Linked DNA regions of Homo sapiens: all the other regions are linked to region 3. The links are contacts of gene promoters, found by promoter capture Hi-C in blood cells and fetal thymus (Javierre and others, 2016). All regions are on one chromosome and are shown on one strand. Each heading gives the region's core, a stretch centred on a gene start or on the middle of the fragment in contact. The rest is flanking DNA. Distances are from core to core; before and after follow the strand shown. Region 1 overlaps DCTD (dCMP deaminase). Region 2 overlaps CASP3 (caspase 3). Region 3 holds the start of RWDD4 (RWD domain containing 4).

Region 1 (4,948 bases), core at 1,614-4,113, 750 kb before region 3:
TCCCTGGAGTAGCTGGGGCTACAGCTGCACGCCACAACACCCGGCTAATTTTTGTATTTTCTGTAGAGACGGGATTTCGCCATGTTGCCCAGGCTGGTCTTGAACTCTTGAACTCGAACGATCCACCTGCCTCGGCTTCCCAACGTGCTGGGATTACAGGCGTGCACTCCATACTCAGCTAGGATCTTTTTCTTTATTGCTGTTATCCAACCTTTTCTCATCCAATGTCTTTTAATCTGCATGTCTGTGGAGTAACCTACAGTCTGACTGTCCCCTCCTATTCATGCATCCTATCTCCATATGGTCTATATTCATCTTAGAACTGCGCCAGTCTTTAATCGTTAGAGGAGGGAGGGAAAGGCGCCTGTTTCTATTAATTTATCCATATGTACACATGCACATTCTCCCTGTGGCATTGCCTCCAACAGCTTTTTACAGCTCTGATTTGACCGAGAACGCTTTCAGAACTCCGTAAGCTGAGAAAAAGATACTAATCTAATGCCATCAAAGCTATAATACTTATATTTTTCCTTGGAATAAGAGAACTGGAAGAATCTTCAGTGATAATTTACTTCATAGAGATATTGAGAAATAAATGTCAGGTGATGCCTCTAACAGCCCCACAGTCACTGGGCATGAACATACCAAACCTGGAACCCTTGGCTCCTTACGGCGGCTCCAGGATTCTTTCGTGTGAATATGGCAATTGTTGTTTTAAGCACTATGGGGCTTTACTTAGCTAATGTGTGTATTACAGACATGCATATCCCTATCCAGATTAAAAAAAAAAAAGTCTTCAGGAAGTAAAAGTAAAAAGCAATACAAACATTTGCAAAAATCTCTAAGAACTAGGTTTTATTGTGTATTTCTGGGAGCAAACAATATATTCATATTCTACTTTAATATAGCTGGTATTAACAAAACTCCTGAAGGGAGATTCCGGATTAAAAAAAACTCAAAATACAATAAAGCTTTAGTCATTTCAGCCAATTTCAGAGAAGATCAGTCAAAATCAGCACAACTGACATAGAACAGATCACCAGAATCAAGACTATGAGAGTAATCATTCTCAGGTAACCACACTGTACAGCAATCCCTGTGTTTCTAAGCAAAGACTTAGCAAAGTTAAAGAAATAAAGAAGTGGCCGGGCACAGTGACTCAAGCCTGTAATCCCAGGACTTTGGGAGGCTGAGGCGGGTGGATCACCTGAGGTCAGGAGTTTGAGACCAGCCTGGCCAACATGGTGAAACCCCATCTCTACTAAAAATACAAAAATTAACCAGGCGTGGTGGCACGTGCCTGTAATCACACAGCTACTCCGAGGCTGAAGCAGGAGAATCGCTTGAAACCTGGAGGTGGAGGCTGCAGTGAGCCAAGATTGTGCCACTGCACTCCAGCCTGGGTGACAGAGCAAGACTCTGTCTCAAAAAAAAAAAAAAAAAAAAAAAGAAGAAGAAGAAGAAGAAGAAATAAAGAAGGAATATCCATTTGCATTCAGATCATTAATGTGCTCAAATACTTAACATAGCTGTTTTCTAAATTAGTTTGCATGTGCCCCTGACATTTTATCAAGGCTACTAATTTTTCAACAAACCTTTTATCTTGAGAGATTACAGTACAAAGATAAACTTCAGCCCACTTCTGGGAACCCTGGAACCACTACTTTAGATTAAGTTTTATTTCAAACTTCTACGAGGTGAACTGACTCAAAAGTCACTTTTTATAGAAAGGAGACAGATATGTGTATTTTCATGGGTAGGTCCAATCCCCAAACATTTCAGCTTTTCCTAACATGTGTGCTCTTCAAAACAAGGAGTTATTTTGTTACTATATGTCTTTCATAGATATTCATAATGAAATAGTAAACTCTAGCACTTTAAAAATAATTAACTCTGTAACTATAAAAATACATAAATATCAAAATAAATTATATTAAAATATCATTATTTATTCCTTTCTGAAAACTGTTTATAAACAATTATATCTTAAAGTAAAACATGCTTACATGGAGCTGGTTGATTTTAGTGGGTGGGAGAAGACTCATATATACACTGGTGTGTCCCTCTGTTTATCTGAAACCCCACACGATCACAGCTGAGTTTGCCCCTTGATTCGTAAAAATAATCTACTTAATTTCTTTTCTATGCAGTTGTTCAAAGGTTTTCCATTGATTATAACAGTAGTTTTGTACAAAAGTCCCTAATTAGACCTGCTGTCGGGCCACAACTAGTAGAAGGCCAGGCAGGGGAGGAGCGGCAGGAAGCTTTAAGTGAAATTAAATTCTGCAGGAAAAGAAACAGCAAGTTATCAAATTCATGGACTGACTAACGAAACCAGAGGACATTCAATTTCAGGACGGAAAGAACAAATTTGATCTTAATTACTAAGAAGCTCTTACAAGTTGTGAGGAAGTCATATCTTAAGAAGGATCAGCCTCCTAACTTCTTGATAAATTAGTTTCTCAACACTAACCTTTCAGATGCCAAAGAAATATATCACGTGCATGGCAGTCAGGAAAATGTCAGTGTTCAAGGGGGTAAAGTAAATGGCTAAGTAATCACAAAAGTGACATCTATGCATGCTTAACAATATGCTAAGTCTGAAAAATAAAGATGAAATTTAAATAGAGAATTTAAAGAGGCACTGCCCCACACTGGCAAAGGTGTTTAAGATGCTCTGCTGAACTCTTTCGCCTTAATTAATTCCAGGTTTTTCAGCATTTTCCTTCCCAGCATTACATCCTTTTTAGAGTATCCCTGTAGACATAGGAACTGACTCGGGTAAGAGCCCCACTTCTACCCAACGCACTCAGAGTGAGGCCTCCCCCGACTCTTGGGGACACTGAGATGCTACGGTTCCCTCCCTGGTGCAGTGAGATGCAGCAGGCCAAGCAACCCTGGCTCCCTGGTCCATTGGGTGGGATAGGAGGCCAAGCACAGAGGCACTCACCAAAACCCAGAGCCCTTTGCCAGCAGAAATCAGCAAGGCCACAAGTGCTGGGCAGCTGGATACATGTGGCAAGCATTACTAAAAATTCCCTTAAGTTTAACAACGGGAACAAGTTAATTCTCCAACTCTCTAATTTGTAAACTATATCATCAAAATCGGTTACGAAAACCCAAGGAAAGAGTGATATCTGAATCACCAAGAGTATTTTACCTCATTTGATAACATTGGTATTTTGATTAAATGTGCTTCACTATAATGAATTCCACAAAGAAAAAGGAATGAAAAATGTCAACTGAATACTTCATCACAGGTTTAGCAACCCACCCCCTCATGAAAATAAAAATCTTCCCAAGTTTTTTAATCTTGTAAATTAGATAAATCTGCTGCTTCCTCTTTTTTAATTGTCATTCATCTGAAAAGATTCTTAGTATAATAACATTGCCTTCTTCCTGCCACTTAATGTTACTGACATCATATTATCTTTTGGATTTTTCAGGAAAAGGATGGAATAAAAAGCTTCTTTAGCAGAGGGAATTTTCATTTTCCACATTAATACTACATTATAATAAAATAGTTTTATGAAGTTTTGATCCCAAGACTGGAAGAACAAAAACACCCTTTAAAAATAACTCTCTAGAGACACAGCCCAGGAAAAGCTCCATCTTCCTATTATGTTACAAGTAGTGTGTGTTTCCCTCCTCCCCACAAGGCATCAATCAGGACTAATGACTTCCGACTTACGGAATTAATAAAGCAGTATTAAGCTGTATGTTATTTGGTAAACTCAAATTTACACAGTTCTCAAGCTCCCTGTCACAGTCCCTTGGGGCTGCTATAACAAAGTCCCATAGACTGGGTGGCTGAGAAACAATGGACATTTATTTCTCATGGTTCTGGAGGCTGGAAGTCAGGACACCAGCATGGTTAGATTCTGGCAAGGTCTCCTTTCAGGGTTGCAGATAGCCATCTTCTCCGCCTATCCTTGCACATGGAAAAAGAGTAACTGAGCTCCCTGGGGTCCCTTTTAGAAGGGCACTAATCCCATTCAGGAGAGCTCCACCCTCATGGCCTAATTACGTCCCCCCAGGCCCCACCTCCAAATATCAGCACATTGGAATTAGGGTTTCAACATGTGAATTTGGGGGGAGACACATTCAGTCCACTGCACTCCCCTTTGAAGAAATGTTACAGTGAGCCACGCATGTGGCTTTCTGCATGATGCCGGACACAGGCCACCCCTCCCCGAGCTCCTGATCTCTGAGGAGTAATTATTTTATCGGAGCCTCAGTCTGATCAACTGCAAAAAAAAATGAGACAATGATTGGCATTTCAGTACAGCTGAATTCATGTGCCCCACAGGAGAGACACAGGGAGGTAGCAGGAAGAGCACTGACCTTGGAATTAGGAGATGTCACCCTGCATGTGTGACATTATAGAAGTTACTTACAAGAAAGGAGGAGGCTTAGATCCTGTGGGCATAGAACCCTGAGACACTACTAAGGTATTGCAAGGGGTCCAAGCATATCCACAACTGGATAAATCCCATGTCCAGGACATACATAAACTTTTCCCAAACATACATAAATGCTATCCAATTAATAAAGTTCAGATTAACAAAAAATGTTACTGATACGAAGTAGTTTTTGTCATTGTGGAGTTTCTTACTCAAAAGATACTAAGAATTTAGCATTATGCAGGGGTCCTGGAAGTTTTTCAGCATTTAAAAGAGGGTCCTGTACATTCAAAAGAGTTAAAAATCATTGTCCAGAACTCGAGATAATCTCTAAAGCTCCTTTACAGGGATTAACCTATGAATTTACCCTTCCTGCTACAGCAGCTCAGTCACCATTAATGTAGATGAGGAAAGAATGGGTTGAGCTATCCAACTCCAGGCAGTATCCCCTTATTTTTTAAATTAATTTTGAAAATCTTAAAACGAAAGCAAAAAAAAAAAAAAAGACTTTGCATTTGAGTCAATTATCAGCAAACATTTCTGTG
Region 2 (4,766 bases), core at 1,857-4,356, 990 kb after region 3:
AGGATAAAAAAATCACATCCTAAGGGAAATAGTCACTGCCTTAAATGAAAACAGAAATTTTGCCTGTAATCCCAGCACTTTGGGAGGCCGAGGCGGGCGGATCACAAGTTCGGGAGATCAAGACCATCCTGGCTAACACGGTGAAACCCCGTCTCTACTAAAAATATAAAAAATTAGCCAGGCGTGGTGGTGGGTGCCTGTAGTCCCAGCTACTCAGGAGGCTGAGGCAGGAGAATGGCGTGAACCCGGGAGGTGGAGCTTGCCGTGAGCCGAGATCGCGCCACTGCACTCCAGCCTGGGCGACAGAGTGAGACTCCGTCTCAAAAAAAAAAAAAAAAAAAAAAGAAAACAGAAATTTTGGTTTTTAGAACATTCTTATTTGACAAAATATAAATAGGAAAAATAATTGTGATTTAAAAGATTTATCCTGGCATAGCAATGGACTTAACATGAATTGTTTCTTACTGGGCTGATGTGTGTGTAATTCTGTTCAATTCAGGATGCTGCTGCTAAGAAAGGAAATTTCTGAACACATATGTTTATGGCAAAGTTCTCAGTAGACCAACTGATATTACTTAGAAACCTGGAACTCAGGTCTCAGAATCACTTGTCTAGTTCCTGGATCCCTTAACACTTGCCACCAACGCTGTAACAGTCAGGTCTTCAAACACAAAAAAATATTGTCAGTATAAATTTACTTCACTCTAAAATAGATACTTAGACATTTCAAGCTGTGTTTTCCTACACAAGTAAAAAACTAGAATGTTCTCCCTATTTACATGGTGGTTAGCCAACTACTCATTACAATACTGAAGTAAAGCAGACTACAACATCTATAGCATTAAGGCAGAGAAATAAAAATTAATTTCTAAAGTGAAATTTCTATATTAAGCTATAAAGTATTAACAATTTGAAACAACCTGTTATTAAAGAGTGAATGTGTGAAAGTGTGCCTGTGGTGGGGAATTCAAAAGGAGATGTTAAATTAGGATTGCCAGTCTCTAAAACTGAAAGAAAAAATACATTATTTTACAATAGGATTTAAAATATTTGATAAAGATTTCTCAGGGACAAATACTATAGTGGACTTCATTAACTTCATTATTAGTATCTGAACAACATATATTTTCTCAGTTATCAGTTTATTTTGATATACTTTAAAAATTTATATGATGGTAAAGGAAATCCTTACAGCATCAGACATGCGCACATTTGCTCTCTACTTGTCATCATCCGCTTTTTCCACATGAAAGCACCAAATCCACACTCCTGGGAGCAGAGCTTTGGTTCCCGCAAAACTCACTGAAGTGCTGCTTAGCATGACATCACCTCCATTAGCTAGTGCCCAGCGGGGTACAAATTATTCTGAGGATGGTGATCTCATCTTAGAAAGATAAAAAATCATATCCTAAAGGAAACAGTCACTGCCTTAAATGAAAACATTTATGTGCCAGTCTCTAAAACTGGCAATCCTAATTTAAATTTTAAATCTCTAAAATTCTTAATCAGCTCATTAGGCTGTTGCTGGTTCCTGTCCTACAGGGAAACTCTGAGGTAAGAAATAAAATCTGGTCTCTGCCCTAAGGGTTTTTAAATCTCAAAGTGAGACCTAAAAAACAACTGTTAGTTTCTGAATCATGTCCATGAATGTAAATGCTTTTAAGAAACATTTACTAGTAAAGATTTACCAAAACAGTAGCCAAAGGATGTGGCGTGAGAGCTGTGTGCAAAGCGCTGCGTGATGACTGTCCCTCTTAATGCTGGCTCATACAGGCTAGGTACTGAACTCAAAGTACAAGCGTATTTTCGTGAGTCCTCCCAATGACACTCTGAGGCATAAGGATCCCCACTGCAGAGTTCAGGTGACTGAGGCTAAGAGAAGTTAATGAACTTTAAAGTCGCACAGCCAAGATTCAAACTAGGATCTTCCCAACTCAAGAGGGCAGACTCCCACTATTCTGTAGACAGCTTAGTACTATATAGGAATGATAACACTTAACTTCAGGGAAGGAAACAAAAATCCATAATCTCAGAAGCTTTAAATAAGACAAAGAAAATAAATAACATGATAGAAAGTTACTGCAGAGATAACAAAATAACATAATGCACTGAATTCTAATGAATGAAAAAATGGCAAAAATGACTATGGCATTTCTGATGCGACTAGGTAGTTTACTTTTGTGTTTTCTTTCCTTTTTTAAAAAAATTTAACAAACTTCGCATGTGGCATTCAATTTACTTCTAAAGTGAAATAGGCCAGACACAGTGGCTCGCGCCTGTAATCCCAGCACTTTGGGAGGCCAAGGTGGGAGGAATGGTTGAGATCATGTGTTCAAGACCAGTCTGGGCAACACAGAGAGACCCCATCTCTATAACAAAGTAAAAACAAGTAGCCTGGCATGGTGGCACACACCTGTAGTCCCAGCTACTCAGGAGGCTGAGGCAAGAGGATTACTTGAGCATAGGAATTGGAGGCTGCAGTGAGCTATGATCGCACCACTGCACTTGAGCTTGGGTGACACAGCAAGGCTGTTTCTAAAAATAATAATAATAAAAGTAAAATAACTGGTTTCATGTTCAGCGTTAGGTATATGTCATTAAAACATATTCCCTGTATCTCTGTGTTCCTCCAAAGGAAAAGTGAAGCCTGTCCAGCAGGACTTCTGGGGAGATTACACTTCTGTCAAACAACTTGAAAAATATCAGGATTATATTTATTACCTGTCAGAGAGGACAAAGTCTCAAAAGCAGTCACGTTTCCAGATTTAGCAAATGAAACAGAAAGAACATCTGTTTCACAATAGTTTGGACAAGAAAAGACTTCAGTTGTGATGTACCAGAGGTTTTATCAAAATCTTTTCCCATCTGGTCTCTGAATTCATTTGAGTACGTATAAGAATTATCAAACTGGCGATTGTAACTGGGCCTGGTGAAGTCAATCTTTTAATATTTGTTATGTAATTAAGGTAAAAATATGAGAACAGGAATGTAAAATCAAATACAGAATACATTGAAATAAGTTCCATTGTACTATACAAACAAACCATCCTTTCCTTTCCTCTGGCAAGGGCCACGTGACCAGGAAGACAGTACAGAGCACTCTCCACTATTCAAAGCCTCTGAGTTTATGACACAAGTTAGAAAGAAGGGCACTTAGTATGTGCAAACGATCTGTCTTCCCTGTGCCAGGTGAAGTCCTAAGATGGTGTTTTTGGAAGGACAAAAGGAGAAAATGGGAAAGCCTTCACAGATCTAAATGATTTGTATGATATAAGTGTAAAATGGAGGATCTCGGATGCCTTTTTATAAAAATTACAGATGACTTTAAAGCCTCAGCACTCCCACCAAGGATGACTACTTTGCAGAATCAGATTCAAGTTTAAAACCGCTTGAAGAAATCCTGCTGTCAGGAAGACTGAAACTGCCAAAACTCAGATTCAGTAGCATTTATTCATTTGATATTTGCACCATAACAATTTACTGAACACCAACTGTGTGCAGAGTACTATACTAGACCCTGAGTGTATCAAGCAGTGGAAGAGACAAACCCTATCTCTATTCAGGGCTTATACCGATGCTCACTGGTATTCAAAAGTGGCTCAACAAGGCAGATGCCAGACCGTGTCCAATACATATCAGGTAGCTTGATTTCATTATTGTAATGCAAAGAAGCTCTACAGGCAACATGTGAAGGTAAGAACAAAACATGCAGAGAAAGAATATTATATAAATCTAAGAATTCTCCCATCTTTGTTTAGGCCCAAACACCAGTGCTTCTTATCTTTGGGGCAGAGCTTAAAGATCTAATAGTAGGCACCAGAAGCAATGTAATATATCATTCATCAAAATAAAGACTGCTTTGTAGGGGGATGAAGCAGTAGGAGATTGTGTTAAACGAGGTTTGAAAACAAAACAGTAAAGAAGCATTATAATTGCCTATATCAGATGCCAGTCTCTTCAAATGGCAAGAGGCAAGGCCTTTATTCAGGATAGCAAAAGCAAATCTGATTTAACTAGGTACAATGTCTAATGTCTCTTACTTTGAACAGGTTTTATTGCCATACTCCAATAAACTGTTCATCCATTCACTAAAATAATTTTCACTTTCAAAAACCTTCTTTTGCAAAAAGGCAAAGCAAAACCAAAGTCCAAGCATCGGGCTGTGATAGAGATGATTTAAGCTTTATATTTCATTTTTAGAGATTATGTAACCACAGCACGCACATTCACAGTGGCTGAGCCCATTTTGATACAGTCTGGTCTAACCACCTTGCCTGGCCCTCTTTCAGCTATCTTGCAGGTTTACATCGTTTCAGTGACTCCGTATGTCACCTCTACCATTTCTTTTCTAATTATTATTTGCTGAATAATCCTAAACCAGGTCTACTTTTTCTAGATAGGGCATAAAAGTAAAAATACAATGGATGGGCATTCACTGTGTTATGCCAGGCCCCGCATTTGGGGCAAGACACTAAGGATACCAAGATAAACCAAGTCCGTCCCTCCTGGAGTTTGCTTGCAAATCTAGCAGGGAAGATAGTAAACAAGCAACTGCAAAGGATATGACACATCTCTCTTAGGGAATGCTGGCTGCAGAAAGAACACAGCATAGGAAGATTTAACCTTAAACTGTTTAATGAAAACAGAAATTTAAGTAGCAGCTCTTCTAATCAAATGTGATGGCGGGAGAAAGGGAGTGCAGAGGTGTTGCAGGCAGACACTAGGTATGAAGGTCAGCATTGCCGTGCAGAAATCGAACCGGTGCT
Region 3 (4,481 bases), core at 708-3,207:
TCTTGCTACCTTTACAGAAAAAACAAAAAAAAACAAAATACAGAAATTCAAGCCGGATTCAAGAATAACTAAGATTAGATTGGAACAAAAACCTTACTCAAGATATAGTACTACTCCTTCTGTCCCTAATCCTTTCCCATATTTTAATTTATGACTTGGACAGGTACAAAAATAGGAGGCAAGTTTATTAAATTTGTGGATGACAATTTGTTGGGACAGTGAATAATGCTGATGGCTGAATAAGAATCCAAAAAGTCTTTGAAAAGCAAGCTAATGATGAAATTTAGCAGGGTAAGTAGAACTTGTATCAATACTCAGATACCTAAATGTAGAAGTTGAAGATGAAAGACAAATTGCTTTGTATAAAGCACTTAAAAGATTTCAGTTGACAGTAAATTTAACTAGACAAAACAGCAAGATGCCACAATTTTGAAACAGGACATTTAAAAAATTAAAATCTGTCCACAAACACGTGATTCCAGGATAGTGAAGAGATTAACAAAGAATGGATATATGAAGACAAGCTAAAAGGAACCACTTCCTCAGAGAAGGTCTGAGAAACTGGGCAGGAAACTATCTTCAAAGATCAGAACATCGGTCATCTGAAAGAAGAATGAAATTTTCTTGTTAAACTGGAGATTCCTGGGCCCACCACAGAAATTCTGATTCAGTAGGTCTGGGGTGGAGTGCACGCATCTGTTTTCTAGCAACCATCTAAATGGTTCTAAGGTAGGGGACTATGGTCCAACTCTGAGAAACATTACACTGTATGTTCTTTGCTTTGCAGGGAGAAGAAGCTATTAACGCATTCACTTAGAAATTCACCCGGCAAGAATATTTTAGAAGAGATTCAGATATCAACTAGCTAGCTTGTTGGACTTTGGGTCCTTTAAAGGTTAACTTCCAATCCAGAGATTCTATTACATTTATCATGTAAAAGTAGTAAGTTTCAAGCATTATACTTTAAATTAACAGTGAACTTATCTACCACCCAATAAGACCTGGTTTCTAGTCCCGATTCTACCACGTACTTACTGTGCAGCCCTGCGGCTATCATCGACCCACCTATCAAAGTTAGAAGGTTCCCCTACAGATGGCCCGTAGCACCCACCCCCCAACTCTAATATTATATGATTCAATGTCAAAATGGCATCTCACAAGGAAATATTTGAGCATAAACCATAAATTCAGGTGGTACATGAATGCTCAAAACAGACAGATGGGTAAAAGATTTCCCCAAACAATATGGACAGAAACTCAGATGCACCACCAGTGTCATTTTCTTCCATGAGAAATGTAACTAACTCAATTAGCCCTCTACTAGCCAAGAGATTTAAAGATGACCAGACTAAAATTTAAAGGTGATCAGCCTAACTCAGTAAACAGGCACTGAACACATGGGATTCAAGGAGAGCCAAGAGCACTGGATCGTGCACCAAGGACGCTCATCCCTGTTATTAAGTAACCAGGGGAGACTCCCGGATTTGCAAAAATGAAAAATGAGGGGGGAAGAGTGGCAGAGGCGGACTCCTGGCCATTCACGCGCGCTTGGGTGGGACGCCGGTGAACTCGGGGCACCCCGGCCGGCTCCGAGGGCACAGGGCACGTGCCGGGCAGGCTGTCCGGGCACCAGGTCTCACGGGGGCCCGGGGCTGCGCGCCGCGCCCGCGCTGGGAGAGGGCCCTGAGCCGGGGGGCTCACCTCCTGGTCCTCGTTGGCACTCATCGCGCCGGTCGCGGGGCGCCTCCTGAGCGGACGGCGTTCGCAACAACGAAGAGAAAGCGAAGGCAGCGGCCCAGAGGCCGGGCGTCCCCCTTTCGCGCCTCGGCTGTGGGGGCGGCACAGTCTTGGCACTGGCAGACGCCAACTGCGCGCGCCCCGAGCCTCGGCAGCGCCCAGCCGCCGGCAGTGGGCTGTGGGCTACGAGCCGGAGCCGCGGCTGGTGGGGCCTGGGAAGTGCAGCGTCTCCCTGACGCTTGGAGGAGCGGCGTAAAGTTCCGGGACAGCGATTGGTGTAGAGCGCGGTCACTCAGGCCCAGAAAGTGCTTCCTGTGCCGGGGGAGGTGGGTACAGGGAAGTCTCGCCTGTTGGAACTGGCTGTGGGGCTGCGGCGGTGGGGACGGGCCACGGCGTTCTGTGACATCCCCCCGCCTCCCCTCGTCTTCTCCCGGCTGGCGGCGACCGGCCTCAGCTGCAGCGGGCCCGGGGCGTGGGGCCTGGGTGAGTCCGGGCCCGGAGACCCGCGGGGCCAGGCGGGACCGCCGAGGAAGAGAGCTAGCTCTTAACAATGCTGGTTTGGGGGCCTGCGTTTTGCAATCCCATCGACGGGTGCAATCCTGGCACTTCTCTTTTAGACCCGAGGAAAGACGCACCCGTTTCTAGGGCCTCCCAGGTTTAAGACGGGGGAATAAGAGGAGGAAGATATCTGCCTTTAGGGACTGCAAGGTTATTTCTCTACCTTTCCTCACTGGAGCTACCAGAACAGATACTGGGACCATGGGGACGGTGTTTCTCCTACGTTGGATTGTTGCTTCTCATCTTTAACATCGAAACATCATTTCGTCCCCACACTGTCGTTCCTCTTTTGTTCGTTTTGTAGTTGAACATCTCTGAATCCCATTCTTAGCAGCCTTGTGTCCTAACACCCTGAACTTCCAGTTAGTTAAAAGAAAAAAAAAGTAACCACATTAGGTTTTGGGGTTTTTTTAGTTGCCAATTTGATTGGGTCACCTTTCTTATCTTTCACGCTAGTTTCCAGTTTACTTCCCTTGCATTACTTGATCTCCCATCCATTATTCACCTTCTATAGCTGCGCCTCCTTTCGTGTATAGTTTCGTTGGTTGCTCCATTGGATATCTGAAAATTTCTCCTTCCAGCCTGTCATTGAAATCCATTCGATCTGCGCCTGTGCGTTATCGGGGTTCTCATTCAAATTCCTTTGCTGCAGAATAAGCACGACCATTTCAGGTGACATAGGAGAATGTGGCAAGACTTTCTGATACAATTTTCGTGCAGCAATTTTGGGACACATTTCCCATAATTTAGATCTCTGCTGTCCAGTTCTGTAGCCAGTAGCTACATCAGGCATTTGAAATAGGCTAGTCTGAATTGAGATGTGCTGTGAGTGTGAAATACACACCAGATTTTGAAGACTCAGTACAAAAAAAGGTAAAATATGTCATTAATAACTTTTATATTATTGTCAGTATGATAATATTTTGGACATACTGTACTGCGTTAAATTGAATATTAAAATGAATTCCATCCACGTTTTACTTTTTAATATGACTGCTAGAAATTTTTAATTTATTTATGTGACTTGTATTTCTATTGGATGACAGTCATTTTTAGTTCCTCTTATTTCAACTCCATATTTAAAGACCACAGCTATGTCTTTTGGGCCTCTGGAGTTATTACAGGAAATGGCCTCTAGTCTAGACTCGTTCATATTAAGCAAAGGGGCCCGTATTGTATTTTGGTCACTTGTTTTTTGTTGTTGTTGTTGAGACGGAGTCTTGCTCTGTTGCCCAGGCTGGAGTGCAGTGGTGCGATCTCGGCTCACTGAAATCTCCGCCTCCCGGGTTCAAGCCATTCTCCTGCCTCAGCCTCCCGAGTAGCTGGGACTATAGGCACGCATCACCATGCCCGGCTAATTTTTGTATTTTTAGTAGAGACGGGGTTTCACCCTATTGGCCAGGCTGGTTTTGAACCGTTGACCTCGTGAATCGCCCGCCTTGGCCTCCCAAAGTGCTGGGATTACAGGCGTGAGCCGCTGTACCCAGCCTGGTCACCCCTTTTTAATTTTCATTCCTACATTACCCAGAACTAGACTGTTTCTTTCTCTGAACATGCAATCCTTTGCCCTCATAACTTAATCCTGTCCTAAAAATATTTAAACAATTCTAAAACAATCTGTTGTAGACATTTCTGGCAAGCTTTGCAAATCATTTATTGAATACCTGTTGTTCTTTCAGTATGTAAACATGAGAAGACTAATAGTCTTTCCTAAATTAACCTTTCAGTTGAAAATATTCCATGTTTTGGGGATTAGGTATTAGCCTAAGTGTGCCTCACTTTTCACAAAGATTGTGTTAGACTTCTCCATAATATACTGGTATACTGGTGTAGATTACCTTTTTTTTTTTTTTTTTTTTTTTTTGAGACGGAGTCTCCTCGCTCTGTCGCCCAGGCTGGAGTGCAGTGGCGCGATCTCCGCTCACTGCAAGCTCCGCCTCCCGGGTTCACGCCATTCTCCTGCCTCAGCCTCCCGAGTAGCTGGGACTACAGGCGCCCACCACCATACTCGGCTAATTTTTTGTGTTTTTAGTAGAGACGGGGTTTCACCATGTTAGCCAGGATGGTCTCGATCTCCTGACCTTGTGATCCGCCCGCCTCGGCCTCCCAAAGTGCTGGGATTACAGGCGTGAGCCACCGCGCCCGGCCAGATTACCTTTTAAAAGAGCCTCATGACACATTCTTTT

What was found. Contacts are between HindIII fragments. The CHiCAGO score rates a contact against its expected background, and 5 or more counts as called.
Region 1: a fragment that was not itself captured here is called in contact with the fragment with the promoter of RWDD4 in region 3 in 1 of 17 cell types (activated CD4 T cells); the score reaches 5.1 in activated CD4 T cells.
Region 2: a contact is called between a fragment that was not itself captured here and the fragment with the promoter of RWDD4 in region 3, in 1 of 17 cell types (monocytes). The highest score is 5.0, in monocytes.

What each region holds. Positions count from the first base shown.
Region 1 is chr4:182,907,257-182,912,204 of GRCh38, forward strand. All of the region lies in intron 3 of DCTD (dCMP deaminase), which reads right to left. Among named protein-coding and RNA genes, the nearest start is that of DCTD, 7.7 kb to the right of the region's middle. The HindIII fragment of the contact is 1,202 bases long and covers 2,263-3,464 here.
Region 2 is chr4:184,643,339-184,648,104 of GRCh38, forward strand. All of the region lies in intron 2 of CASP3 (caspase 3), which reads right to left. Among named protein-coding and RNA genes, the nearest start is that of CASP3, 3.7 kb to the right of the region's middle. RefSeq lists enhancers at 1-147, 148-725, 1,027-1,658. The HindIII fragment of the contact is 2,145 bases long and covers 2,035-4,179 here.
Region 3 is chr4:183,657,228-183,661,708 of GRCh38, forward strand. RWDD4 (RWD domain containing 4) reads right to left here and starts at 1,958. Exons shown (of 8, transcript NM_152682.4): 1 at 1,702-1,958. The coding sequence starts at 1,725. TRAPPC11 (trafficking protein particle complex subunit 11) reads left to right here and starts at 2,066. Exons shown (of 30, transcript NM_021942.6): 1 at 2,066-2,220. RefSeq lists enhancers at 1,165-1,953, 1,868-1,997, 1,954-2,741 and silencers at 1,473-1,693, 1,508-1,717, 2,088-2,377. The HindIII fragment of the contact is 5,102 bases long and covers 1-3,933 here.